3 separate regions of the Homo sapiens genome follow, and all the other regions are linked to region 3. Evidence: promoter capture Hi-C in human tissues and cell types (Jung and others, 2019). All regions are on one chromosome and are shown on one strand. The core of a region is centred on a gene start or on the middle of the fragment in contact, and the rest is flanking DNA. Distances in the headings are between cores, read along the strand shown. Region 1 has its middle 87 kb from the start of GADL1. Region 2 has its middle 41 kb from the start of GADL1. Region 3 holds the start of STT3B (STT3 oligosaccharyltransferase complex catalytic subunit B).

Region 1 (2,700 bases), core at 8-2,507, 550 kb after region 3:
CTATGGGTGACATGTTTTTCTGCAAGGAAGAAGAGATCTTGGTAAAGTTTCTAACAAAATAATGAGTGATTTTTGCTTTTAAGCCCCAATTTAAAGCCTGCACTTAAAAAGAACAGTAACTTTATTTTAGTGGATATCATGATACCTAAGATCCCCCTCTAGGAAAGAGGCACTTATTTTCCCAGCTGCTGGAAGTGCTAATGGCTGATGCCCCTTAGCTGATTGTCCTCTTTGGGATTTGTGCTTGGCTGAAGAGAGTGTCTTGCCCCAAGATCATACCCATTTTTCAGGCACAAACTACATTCAGTGGCTGGTCAGTGCAGGGTTATAAAGGTGCAGCTCTCCTGCCTCAATTCAGAACAACTCTGAAGGGCCCTCTCAGCTCTAGATCTCCAGGTTGGATTGGCTGAGACCTTTGCTGCAACTATACTGTAGCTCAGCTTCTCTCCCTGCCCTCAATGACTTCCCTCTGTCTCTCAGGGGTGCTGATTCTGAGCATACTCTCCAATAAACCTCCTGCTGCTATCTCAGGAGCTGACCAGTGATACACCATCTTAGGGAAGACCGAAGTCCTTTACTAATCAGCTGGGTCACGGTTATCTCAAAAGATTCTTATCTAGCATTTGATCCCATATGGAGTGGCTTTGTTGAGACAGACAGGGAAAAACTGAAATTGCATTTAATTGAATGACTGCTGGTGGCATAAAAACAGGCAGGTAGAGGAGGAGGGGAGGCACAGGTGATGGAGGAAGGCGAATGGCAGCTGGAGACATGATAGGAACAAGTCTCTGGGGATTGATCAGGTAGAGGCACTAAATTCAGAAACAGGGCCAGCCTCAAGCAAAAATGTAAATTAGGCAACACTTGTTCTACTTTTCCCCAGTGCCTTTTTCTCTCCATGGAGCCTGTAGCCATCAGAACCTACTCTCTGGAAAAGATCTGATAAGCTATTTACCCCTTAGTGTGAATCTAAGTCAACAGCTTTGTTTTTCTTTTTTTTTTTTTTCCCCCACTTGCAGAGTTATTTGCATTTTAAGTATTTTTATGGAACAAAAATTTTGGTCCTTTGTTAAAAGGAATTTTAACAAACTACCAGTAAGTAGAGGGATTGGGGGTAGGAAAGAGGAATCCTTTCCTCTTCCCAACCACTCAAAATCAGTTCTCATTGAGGAATTTTCTTGGGTGACAAAGGATGGGAAGGTGGCACCTTAGTAGGAATGTCTATAAGCTGTTTGGAGATGGATCCCTCATAAATTCTATTTTCCCATCCCCATGGAATTTGCTATATAGGGTTGCAAAGCAAAGTCGCATAGTTTTCATTTTAAAGATAGAGTAAATTTGGAAATCTTCTCTTGTCTGGACAGATTCTTACAACGAATTTGGGTTTTTAAAAGGATACTATAAAATGTGAAAAAACATTTGTAAATTTTATTTATTTGTAAACTCTTTACCAGAAGATATAGAATGTTGGCCTAATAATTTTTTATCTCTTTCAGTTCCTTTTCTGTTGAACCAGATCACTATTCAAAAGATTCATTCCCCAAGATTCTTCCTCAGCTTTGTCTTCAATAGTCTCAATGAAATAGAAGAAATTTAAAAAGTAAAAGCAATGAGAACAACTTTAAGACATCTCTGTAGAGAATTCAGTCCTCTTCAGCAGTCCCATATTTTCATCTGTTCATTCATTCATTCCACGAATGTCAACTCTCCATACCGTGCTAGGCTGTGTCCTAGATGCAGAAGCAGAACAAATAAAGAGGCACTAGCTGATGTCCTTGAGCCCTTTCAGGGTAACAACATCCTTCTTGATCTGCTGACCTGCATGGCAAGATGTTATTTACTGCTCACATTAGTTGTGTCCTTGGCTATGAATTAACCATGACTTAAGAGCAGTGTGTGTGAAAGCCCTCCGCATTCTGTTGGCAAGCATGTTGTTTGCAAAAATTGATCATTCATTTTTAAGCAACACCTATGTGGATCATTAACACCAGGTACAGTTACTAAAATGAAACTCTTGAGAATATTTTCCATTTGTAATTTGAATTCTTGTCAATTTTTGAGGCTTTCCTGAAAACAAATGACTGGGTTTTTTAAAATCCATCTTTTTAAGTTTTTTATTCACTGAATTAGTTAGAAGTGATTCTGCTAATCTTTCTTAACCCTAAATGCAATATTTTCTGAGTGAAATAATGAAAAACCTGAGGAAAAAAAAACTATAGGAAATCATAATTTGCTGAGGCAGGGTTTTCTTTATTAATAAAATAATTTAATTGGTTGTTACTAAATGTGATGGTTTTATGACCAAGTATAAGATTTAGTTAGTAAGCATGAATTGCAATTATATACAGCAATATTTCTTTGCTGGGATGATTGGGAAGGTCATCTCTTTGGGCCTTAGTTTCCTCATCCATAAAGTAAGTTTGTTTGTACTCCATTGAAAAAAAAAAAAAGGGTGGGGGCTGGGTGCAGTGGCTCACACCTGTAATCCCAGCACTTTGGGAGGCCGAGGGGGTGGATCACTTGAAGTTAGGAGTTCAAGATCAGCTTGGGCAACATGGTGAAACCATGTGTCTACTGGAAATACAAAAATTAGCTGGGAGTGGTGGTATGCCTCTGTAATCCCAGATACTCAGTGACTGAGGCAAGAGAATCCCTTGAACCTGGGAGGCAGAAGTTGCAGTGAGCCGAAATTGGGCCACT
Region 2 (2,700 bases), core at 136-2,635, 600 kb after region 3:
CATTGGCTTAGGCAAAGACTTCATGACCAAGAACCAAAAAGCAAATGCAACAAAAACAAAGATAAATAGATGGGACTTAATTAAACTAAAAAGCTTCTGCACAGCAAAAGAAGTAATCAGCAGAGTAAACAGACAACCCACAGAGTGGGAGAAAATATTCACAAACTATGTGTCTGACAAACGATTAATATCCAGAATCTACAAGGAACTCAAATCAGCAAGAAAAAGCAAATAATCCCATCAAAAAGTGGGGTAAGGCCATTAATAGACAATTCTCAAAAGAAGATATACGAATGGCCAGAAAACATATGAAAAAAGTGCTCAACATTACCAATTATCAGGGAAAGGAAAATCAAAACCACAATGTGATACCACCTTACTCCTGCAAGAATGGCCATAATTTTTTAAAAAAATGATGTTGGCGTGGATGTGGTGAAAAGGGACTACTTTGACACTGCTTGCGGGAAGGTAAACTAGTACAACCACTGCGGAAAACAGTATGGAGATTCCTTAAAGAACTAAAAGCAGGTCTACCATTTGATCCAGCAATCCCACTACTGAGTATCTACCCAGAGGAAAAGTCATTATGTGAAAAAGACATTTGCACATGCATGTTTATAGCAACACAATTCACGGTTGCAAAAACATGAAACCAACATAAATGCCCATCAACCAACAAGTGGATTTAAAAAAAAAGTGGTATATATTTACCATGGAATACTACTCAGCCATAAAAAGGAAGGAAATAATGGCATTCACAGCAACCTGGATGGAGTGGAGACCATTATTCTAAGTAACTTAGGAATGAAAAACCAAACATCTTATGTTCACATTTATAAGTGGGAGCTAAGCTATGAAGACACAAAGGCATAAGAATGATATAATGGACTCTGGGGACTTGGGGGGAAGGGTGGGAGGGGCCGAGGGATAAAAAACTACACATTAAGTGCAGTGTACACTGCTTGGGTGATGGGTGCACGGAAATCTCAGAAATCACCCCTAAAGAACTTATTCATGTAACCAAACACCACCTGTTCCCCAAAAACTATTGAAATAACAACAACAACAACAACAAATAGTAATAATAATAAAAAGAAAGTGGTGGAGGAATTTTGGGGAGTGTTTCTTAAGTTAAATAACAAAGGTGTGAGAGCAAGTACTGAGGAAGATGGAAGAAGAAGAGATTGTAGACAGAGGTAGGAAAAAAAGGAGAGTTTAGACATGGTTTAGTCTGAAAAATGGTCCAGGAAGTGACCATGACATTGGGTTGACAGCAAATGAAAATGACGGTCAAAATGCGGAATAAGGATCTTGGAATTTTCAGGATTCGGAAATACGTGGCTTGTATGTTAGCATAACCCCCTCCTCACACATGACGGATATTATCATCCCATCCATCACGGCTCTGATGGCTTTATAATATAGCTTTATAATCCTTCTCAAACAGCATTTCATTTAGCCACTGCTAACTGGTGTCTAGTCATTCCAGAGCTTGGTTATTTCAGGCAAAAGTTAGTAAACACTAATTATTAATCTATGTCGCTGTTTGTATGAAGTGTAACATAATGGAAAGTGCCTGGGCTAGGCATCTGAAGGTTTAGGTTCTTTCTGAGTCTATTCCCAGTTATGTGACTTTGAGTAGGTGACTTAATTGATCTGCACACTTGTAAACTGAAGATAATTATACCCAGTTTCCAGCCTCACTGGAAATTTGTGAACAGACCGCTCTGATTAGCTGGGTGTGGTGGCAGATGGTTGTAGTCCTCACTACTTTGTAGGCTGAGGCAGGAGGATCCCTTGAACCCAGGAGTTAGAGGTGCAGTGAGTAAGATCAGACCACTGCACTCCAGCCTGGGTGACAAAGTGAGATCTTGTCTCTGAAAAATATAAATAAAAAATAAAACCCTGCTTTTAGAAAAAGTTGAAGATGCTATACAAAATTTATTATTAGCATCATTAGCCATGTAGAAAGCTACAAGTCGTGGCATAAAATGGACAAAATATGAAACTAATTGAAGAAGGCTATATAGACTAAAAATATACGGTTAGATTTGTTTTTGGTTTTTAAATGGTCACTTCCTGGGTATTTTTTAGTTTAAACTAGAGCATTCATTTCAAGTGACTTTAACAGCTATTAAAGGAAAACAAGAAAAGCTCAGTTATTTAAAGAATTGTTTAAGAGAAGGTTTAAGATTAGAAGAATTATACAATATTGCCACATCGTACAGAACTGGATCACTCTGGTTTTTCTTGCTTCTTATTTTTCCTACAAGTTTCCTCTCTGCTAAAGACCCCAAAAGTCCCGTCCCATTACTCGTGTGCTCATGATCAAGTGTGAATTAGACCTGTTGAATTTTACAGTTTTGCCATTCCCATGTCGACCTGCCCTCTATTTTTCCAAGGAGAAAATAAAATGTTATTATTCATGTTGCTCCTGCCATAACTCACAAATAGGAGGAACACCTCTCCTGTAAGCTGTGAAACTGTTCAAACGCCATGCTGATGCTTCCCCCTGTGGTCACAAAAGAAACTTGTTTGCTTTTTCTCCAACGTATTTGGAAAGGATGTTTTTACGGCAATGCTGTTTGAATTATTATAGCTAACCTTTTCCAGTGTACATGTCTAGAGGCATAATTGTATTCTCAAAACGAACTCCAACAACAGCTACAGAAAGATGCATCAGCTTGTTTATTCTTAAAA
Region 3 (2,700 bases), core at 113-2,612:
TAATTTCCTAAAACATTCAGGTCAGTCCCTTACACCATGTGCAACTTCGGTATTACAATCTAGGACTCCCATCACCGTGGTACTGTTTGCTCTTATCCACAAACCTTCCTGCAGACCAATAAAGGAACTAATGCAATGCTTTCAGATACTGTGCATAACACACTAAGGGTGACAGTGGCTAACAGGGTAAGGATCTTGTTCTAAAAAGCAACCCAAGACGATAGTGAAACAGTAAGGTGCTGAGTGCACTTAAGAGCTCTGAAAAAAAGCCACTCTTTAAAATACCTAATGATAAATAAATAAGAGTAGCTAGCTTTCAGATCACTTTCAGGGGTATTATTTCCTTCCCTCCAACACGCCATTCACTCTCCTTTTCCCTTCTCGTATCATGAGAGCATAAAAAGAAACAGTAAAAGCGTAAAACTGCAAGGGTGAGCAGCCGGGGTTCCGGCACATCTGGACCCACCTCCAGCGGCAACAGGGCAGCCCCCCTGGCCGATTCCGTCTGAACTAGCAAAAACGCGCCCGCAAATATGAAAGAACGCGAAAGCAGCGGGCGAGGAGGGCGGGGAATCGACCGACAGTCCGCGGAGGAGCTACCTGCCGCCTCCTGGCGTGGCGGGTCCGGACTCAGCGACCAAAGCGGGCTGCGAGGGACTGCACCCACACTCCCGGCGGCTGCACCCACACTCCCGGCGGCTGCATCCACACTCCTGGCAGTCTTCACACTAGCCCGGCCGAGAATCAAGGTTTCGCTCCTGGACCCCGACGCCCCGCCTCAGGCTGCACGGGGCAAACTTCGCCCACGGGCAGGGGGCGCGCCCGGAGCTCCGGGATCCGCGCCGGCCTCAGCCAGGACGCGAGCGGGGCTCCGCGGCGGCGCGGGGCCAAGTCGAGGAGAGCTGCGGCGGGCGGAGGAGCGGGTCCCGGTTCCCCGCGGGCCACGGGCGGGGGAGGGGCGGCGAGGCACTTACCACGGGTCGAACTCGTGGATGATGCTTTCGAAGCGGATGACGGCGAAGAGGCGCGAGCTGAAGCCGGCAAGCCAGGCCAGGAAGAGGATGGTGAAGGAGAGAAGCGACTGCCACCCAGCCGGCTGCGACAGCCCCCCGGACAGCCCCGCCGGGGCCGGCTTCGGCGGCGCCGCGCCGCCCGCCGCCTTGTGCGCGCACTGGGCCCCGGGCCCGTGGTGGCCGTGCCGGCTGTTTCCCAGGGCCATGAGGCCACTCCACGGGGACGAGTTGAGGGACGACTTGTGCTTGCTCTCCGGGGCCGAGGGCTCCGCCATGTTGTGCCCCGGCGGCGGGTCTAGCTCTCCTCCTCCGCCGCCGCCGCCTGGTGCGAGGGGTGCTGGGCGGGGACCCGGAGGAGGAGGAGGAGGAGGAAGAAAAAGGAGGAGGGAAGAGCTCTGCGCGCTCCCGCCCTCAGCGCCGCGAGGCCGGCGGACTGGGGGTGGAGGAAGCGGCGGCGGGGAGTCTCCGCCTCAGCAGCGGCCGCAATCGCCGCTCTCTCAACCCAGATGGCCCCGGCGCCCCACTAGCCATCCGTATCCCCAGTGCAGCTGCGGCGGCGGCGGCGAAAGCCGACGGGACGAGGGCGCCAGGAAAGAAGCAGCAGACGGAGGCGGCACCACGGCTCTGAGAAGCAATGACATTCCCTCTCTAGCCCGCCGCCCGCCCAGCCGAAAGGAGCAGGGGGAGGAGCCCCCTGGAGTCCGGGCGGAGCTCAAGCAACCTCTGACTCCGCCTCCGGCCCGACAGGAACTGGCCCCTCCGCCTGTCACAAAGCGACAGGTCCGTTAGGGGGCGGGCCCAGAACCGCTGCGCCCACCAATAGGGGCGCGAGCTGGGGCGGAGCTTGACCCAACCGTCTCCCCCTCCCCCCCACCATCCCGGCCTCGCGCCGATTCGCCCGGAGTGGCCGAGCTGCGCGGCTACGGCTTCATTGTCAGTTGAAAGACGCGGTTTCGCGCGCCTGTGCGGTCGGCGAGAAAGGGTACTAGGCGGCTCCGCTAGGTTCATGGAGCTGAGCTGGGCCGAGGGGCGGGAACTGCGGAGCGGCCTCGGTCAAACTCGTCTTAAAGGACGCGGAAAGCGCCGCACCGACCAGCAGGACGCTCGCGGGCTCTCCGCGGTCGTGACTTTTAACCCGCTTTGCGCGGAGCCCTCACCACGTGACGGCCGCGCAGGCGCATTATCCTAGCCCTCGGCGCGTGGGTCGGGCCGAGGGGTTCAGCAGCCCGTGGCGCTCCTCGGCTGGCGCTGCGAGTGAGCCCGCGGCGGCAGTGACACAGCCTACCTTGCTCATTGCCCTTCACGTCCCGCCTCCGGCTTCTGCGGCCGCGGGAATCCGAGAATGTGAGCAAAGACAAGTTTTCCGACACCGAAAACTCGTTGGAACCGGCAAGCGCGCCCCTAGCTCCGGCAGGCAAAATGCGACCTTCTCTCGCCCTTTTTCGTTTGTACTCCGAATTGCGAAAGTACTGTATGTTCACTGGAAATATGGGAAAATGCAGAAATACATTAACGGCTGCATACATTCCGTCGAGTGAGTGAAACTAACTTACCCTGGACGTTAAGCTGTTTCCAGTTCTCACTTTACTAAATAATAATAGAACGAAGGTTCTTGTGCACGTCTACCTTGTATTTTTATAATTCCTTTCCTTTCCCCACTTCCCTCCTTGTCCGCTAAAATAAAGTG

What was found. Contacts are between HindIII fragments. The study calls those that stand out against the background at their distance.
Region 1: a contact is called between a fragment that was not itself captured here and the fragment with the promoter of STT3B in region 3, in 1 of the 25 tissues and cell types used here (aorta).
Region 2: a fragment that was not itself captured here is called in contact with the fragment with the promoter of STT3B in region 3 in 1 of the 25 tissues and cell types used here (aorta).

What each region holds. Positions count from the first base shown.
Region 1 is chr3:30,980,722-30,983,421 of GRCh38, reverse strand. No RefSeq gene overlaps it. Among named protein-coding and RNA genes, the nearest start is that of GADL1, 87 kb to the right of the region's middle. The HindIII fragment of the contact is 6,870 bases long and covers 1-2,700 here.
Region 2 is chr3:30,934,151-30,936,850 of GRCh38, reverse strand. No RefSeq gene overlaps it. Among named protein-coding and RNA genes, the nearest start is that of GADL1, 41 kb to the right of the region's middle. The HindIII fragment of the contact is 5,852 bases long and covers 1-2,700 here.
Region 3 is chr3:31,531,587-31,534,286 of GRCh38, reverse strand. STT3B (STT3 oligosaccharyltransferase complex catalytic subunit B) reads right to left here and starts at 1,362. Exons shown (of 16, transcript NM_178862.3): 1 at 975-1,362. The coding sequence starts at 1,288. RefSeq lists enhancers at 630-689, 1,540-1,679 and silencers at 850-999, 1,080-1,209, 1,240-1,469, 1,780-2,039. The HindIII fragment of the contact is 7,687 bases long and covers 1-2,700 here.